Linked DNA regions of Homo sapiens: region 1 is linked to region 2. The links are contacts of gene promoters, found by promoter capture Hi-C in blood cells and fetal thymus (Javierre and others, 2016). All regions are on one chromosome and are shown on one strand. The core of a region is centred on a gene start or on the middle of the fragment in contact, and the rest is flanking DNA. Distances in the headings are between cores, read along the strand shown.

What was found. Contacts are between HindIII fragments. The CHiCAGO score rates a contact against its expected background, and 5 or more counts as called.
Region 1: a contact is called between a fragment that was not itself captured here and the fragment with the promoter of PYHIN1 in region 2, in 1 of 17 cell types (non-activated CD4 T cells). The highest score is 5.1, in non-activated CD4 T cells.

The regions. Positions count from the first base shown.
Region 1 is chr1:159,013,142-159,015,890 of GRCh38, forward strand. It overlaps IFI16 (interferon gamma inducible protein 16), which reads left to right. Exons shown (of 12, transcript NM_001376587.1): 2 at 1,520-1,804; 3 at 2,731-2,749. The coding sequence starts at 1,540. It overlaps LOC124904432 (a long non-coding RNA gene), which reads right to left and starts at 909. Exons shown (of 2, transcript XR_007066671.1): 1 at 426-909; 2 at 1-339. RefSeq lists an enhancer at 1,876-2,749. The HindIII fragment of the contact is 2,831 bases long and covers 19-2,749 here.
Region 2 is chr1:158,930,302-158,932,801 of GRCh38, forward strand. It overlaps PYHIN1 (pyrin and HIN domain family member 1), which reads left to right and starts at 1,251. Exons shown (of 9, transcript NM_152501.5): 1 at 1,251-1,475. The HindIII fragment of the contact is 3,309 bases long and covers 1-1,770 here.

The DNA.
Region 1 (2,749 bases), core at 184-2,683, 83 kb after region 2:
ATGTTCTCGTAAGAAGGAAGCTTTTTTTTTTTTTTTTTTTTTTTTTTGACGGAGTCTCACTCTGTCACCCAGGCTGGAGTGTAGTGGCACGATCTCCGCTCACTGCAACCTCCGTCTCCTGGGTTCAAGCAATTCTCCTGCCTCAGCCTCCCGAGTAGCTGGGACTGCAAGCGCTTGCCACCACACCTGGCTAATTTTTGGTATTTTTAGTGGAAACGAGGTCTCACTGTGTTAGCCAGGATGCTTTTGATCTCCGGAACTTGTGATTCGACCACCTCGGCCTCCCAACATGCTGGAATTACAGGCGTGAGCCACTGCGCCTGGCCCAATTAATAGCCCCTGAAATTTAGATATCTTGGTTATACACAAAGACATCATTCCTAAAATTAAAAAATTCATTAATTTAAAAGTTTTGGAATCCATACCTTGCACTGTCATCATGGAAGTGTACAGGTGTTAAGAGGTCAAGAGCAGTGACACTCTGTCCATAGGGAGACTCTGAAATCTACCATGAGACAAAGCCTCAGTTGAGTCTTAAGGTTGTATGGGAAGTAGTCAAAGAAAGAAATGTGGGAATGGCTTTCCAGGCAGTAAGAAGGAACTAGCAAAGTCATGAGGCATGAAGACACAAGGTGTCCGGCATCTTTGTGAAGCATAGATACAAGGAGTACAAAGGTACTAGAAGTAAAAAAGATGCAGCTTATTCAACACTTTCTGAGACAGTATAGGAAGCAAGGAATTTTGGGGAAGAAAAAGGAGAAATATTGAAGGATTTCAGTGGAATATAAATGTGGCTTATCGAGAGAAAACTGATTGTGCGAAAAGAAATAATTAGACAAATCAAGTCTGAAAGAAGAAAAATAAAACAACCAATAAAATCATTTCAGTGAATAAATACTGTGATGCTGCACTAGAAAGCATGCAGATTTTCAGCAAAGTTATGGTTTTATGGGTACAGAGAACAGAAGCCATGGTCTAGCACCAAAGAAGGGAGGATGCTAATGAAAGCCAACTAGGGAAGAGTCAAGGAGAATAGGGTCAGTGCCACAGCATGAAACTGTAGCGCTGTAGCAGAAAGTTATTCATATAAGGTGGGAGGCTGCAGCCCATTTACACCTAGGCCGCTCCAGTCATACTGGGTGTGGGAAGATTTAAGAAACAACAGGCAGGATTTGGGGAATAGGCTTCAGCCCCAGTAAAGGATAAGAAGAGGAACCAAGGGCTTTGACACTGCAGAGCTCATACTCTTAACACTGAGGCAATTGCTTGTTCTCAGACCTCCCTCTAACAACTGGACCCAACTCAACTATTCTCATTCAATGGGAATAATTTCTTAGACATTCCTAACCCAGCAGTTCTTCACTCAATTTCTACAGTAACACATTTGGTCGTTGAGTCCTTCTTTATCACACATATTCATGAACAACTCTTTCATATGGGCCACTCACTCACATAGGCATACATCTTTTAAATTGTCTGTATACATGTGTAACACTGTATATACCATTTTCTCTTGTAGGCTCACTTATGTCTGTAAAGATGGGAAAAAAATACAAGAACATTGTTCTACTAAAAGGATTAGAGGTCATCAATGATTATCATTTTAGAATGGTTAAGTCCTTACTGAGCAACGATTTAAAACTTAATTTAAAAATGAGAGAAGAGTATGACAAAATTCAGATTGCTGACTTGATGGAAGAAAAGTTCCGAGGTGATGCTGGTTTGGGCAAACTAATAAAAATTTTCGAAGATATACCAACGCTTGAAGACCTGGCTGAAACTCTTAAAAAAGAAAAGTTAAAAGGTAATTGGGAAGAGGGAACACCCACTCCCTGCAACCATCCCCAAACCCTCCCCAACATTGATTAGAGCCCCACCTCGGACATACTTGAGATGTGTTTTCCCCAGTTTGTGACTCAACAGCTGAGACAATGTTGGTACTTCAGAGGCCAACAAGTTGACAACTTAGTGCATTCCATTACTGGTGTAGATTGAAGTATTTCAGAATGTATATTTGGGATCAGTGAAAGAACAAAAGTGAGAGGGAGTTGAAGGGGGACTGAGACTTCCAGTACATTAGAAAGATTATATAATAATAAAATCATAAAAACTGTTTAAATTCAAGATATGTACATTTAGCCAATGAATGTATCTGTTCTATTGAGACCATTTAACCCATCACTACCCTTTATAATTTAAAAAAATGCAATACTTACATGTGAGCCTGCCTCTCAGAAGTGTGATCTCCTCTCTTGTTATATCAAGTTAAAAAAAAGGATTTGAAAAAGTCTAAGTCCAAAATCAGTATATCCTTCCTCATGGAAACCTTTGGCTGGTTTCTATAATTTGAATATCTTTACCTGGGGAATGTGACCTAGCAGTCTCCATCATGAAAACATTAGTTTTTAAAACAAAATGATCGGAGAACCGCATTGGGAAAGGGTTAACTGAAGCACATGGAGTTCAGAGAACAGGAAGCATGTGCTCAGTGCACAGGGGAGGAGTGAGGAAAGTGCTGAGGAGCATGAGTCAGTGCTTGTTCCTGTCTTGTGACTGCTGGTCTCCTTAAGGCCAGGCTGGGCTAATGCAGTAGAGCTAGACTAAAGCACAGCTGAACCCTCAAGCAGGAACTGAGAGCAAATTGTATTGAAACTGCTTCAGCTGTCGGAGATCGTTTATATGTCTTCCTTTTTTCTGCATTGGTTGGGAATAAAATTGAATCTATTCCAGTAAAAGGACCAGCCCTATC
Region 2 (2,500 bases), core at 1-2,500:
TTTACTGGAGAAAGCACTTGCTTTTCAGCCCGGAGAAGGCGCCACCAGGAACCTGAGGAATCTGGGAACAGATTTTACTACCTTCCCACGTTTTCCCACCTTTTAAATGACTGGAACTGCTTTCTCCTTTGCTTTTCACTATATAGAACGTATGGCTCTTTATTGAAATACTATTTAAACAAGGTTTCTAAGCCACAGCCTGGAGAGAGAAATACTTTTGAACTGAGGCCTATCCCTTGTGATGAGTAGAGCACACATTAATAAACTGCTTGTTTTTCTTTTGTTAATTTGACGTTTGTTTTCAGGAGAGTGTCAACTAATAACCTAAAAAGGGAAATTTAAAAAAAACTTGTTTTCTCCCCTACAGCTGTATTTCGGGCCCCATTTTCCACTCATGGCCACATCCTGCTTGCAGATCTGCTGCTGGGTTAACACAACATCATCTGCCAGTTGGTGTCGTTTATTTGACATCTTGGGGTTTTAGTACTCTGAAGGACACCCACTGCCCTTAACAGAAAAAATACTGCTGAGCAAAGGGTTTAACAGGACTCTCGGTCTACCAGAAGTTCAGTGCATTTTCCAGGATTTTCAAGGCTTCGATGCTGTCATGTTGTGAGCCCACTATCCACTTGTGTTTTTCCATGAATAATGAAGGAAACCTGAGGAATCATGAATGTAATCATTGAGGTAAAATAACCTAGTCATAGTCAAGAGGACAGCTAGTGTTAAACTCCTTTATATATATTTGAGAAAGGATTTATATATTCATAATAACTTTCTGATCTGGAAAGCCCTAGGTTTGTCAACTATTAATAACTGGGTGAATGCTTCAGGTAGTATTTAAACCAACTGCTATTTCATAGCAGACATTCTCCCATGCAGGAGATGCAGTAAAGTACTGGTAGCAATAGATGCTCCTACCAAGATCTCCCCCTGCAACCGCACAGGAAAGGAGGGAGAAGAAACCACCTTGCTTCTCTCATATTTGACAATCATTCATCGGAATAGAGGTCCCTAATGTCCCACATGTAAGTCTGCTGGTTAAGAAAGTTCTAAGATTGGAACTCCATTCAGATATCAACATTTGTAAGAAAAAAAATTTTAAATATAACTTTGATACAAATTTTACTTTGATTAAGATACCTACAGGAAAGAAACTGTTCATTTTCTCTAACAGGATGGAAAGCAAAAAATATGGGTGGGAGGAGTCTGCACGTTGTTTCACAACTTCTCTCTCCCCAGGGCAAAGCAGAGTATGAGGAAGCCAGCACTAGTCAAGTGACTCTAAGAAGGGCCATTTTCCCTTGTTGTCTTTGAAAATACTTCATTTTCTTAGCATTTCAGGAGATTATAACATCCTGTATTTCAGTTTCTGAGAGCTTTACTGACTGATTTCCCTATTCAAAACAATCCTCATTTCCTACATTTCTGAAGATCTCAAGATCTGGACTACTGTTGAAGAAATTCCCAGTAAGGTGAGTACTGTGGGTATTTTTTATAGAAAAGATCTAGATGCTTCCTTGAAAGCCACAAAATCACAAGGGAAAAATCGATATTGGTTCTTCAGGGCAGTGGGGTGAGGGCAGTAGGGCTGGTATCAACTATATTCAGAAAAGTGAAAACTGCAGTTAATACTTCCAATTCTTTACTTACTTCAAAGATAGTAGATATCCTTTATTCTACAACTGGGGCATGAATGAAGGAATATGCATTTTGACCATTGCAGATTTTAAAACAAATTCTCTGAGTATATATTCTCTGAGGTTAGAAAGCTTGGTGGCCATTGGGGTCTGGGCAAAAGACAAGATAATGATTTCATTCTTTTTTATGGATGCATAGTATTCCACGCTGTATATGCATAACATGGATACGGCTAGAGAACATTACCCTAAGTGAACTAACACAGGAATACCAAATACTGCATGTTCTCACTTATAAGTGGAAGTTAAACATTGAATCCATATGGGCACAAGATGGGAACGGTAGACGCTGGGGACTGCTTGAGAGGAAAGGTGGGAGCAGTATGTGGGTTGGAAGGCTATCTATCTGGTACTATGTCGCTACCTTGGTGATGGGATCACCAGACAACAAGCCTCAGCGACACACAGTTTACTCATTTAACAAGCCTGCACATGTACCCTCTGAACCTAAAATGAAAGTAGAAGATAAAATAAGACAAGATAATGATGTGCACAAAGTATCAGGAAATAATATTAAGTAAAAAACACATCTAGACATACAGCTGTATTTTACGGTATCTCAATTTTACAAAACATGTTCTCACACAAAAACATATGTGAGAACATTTTGTAAATAATATTATTCTACAAGTGCAAACACATAGTAGAAAATGTATCCATTTTGCAAACACAATTATTCAAATAATTCAAATAATTCAAATGTGTCAATATTTTCATAAGTATGTTTAACTTTTACATTAGCATCATTCTATACCAGATGTGAAAGGCAGTTTTTTATTCATTTTAAGATTACTTCCTGC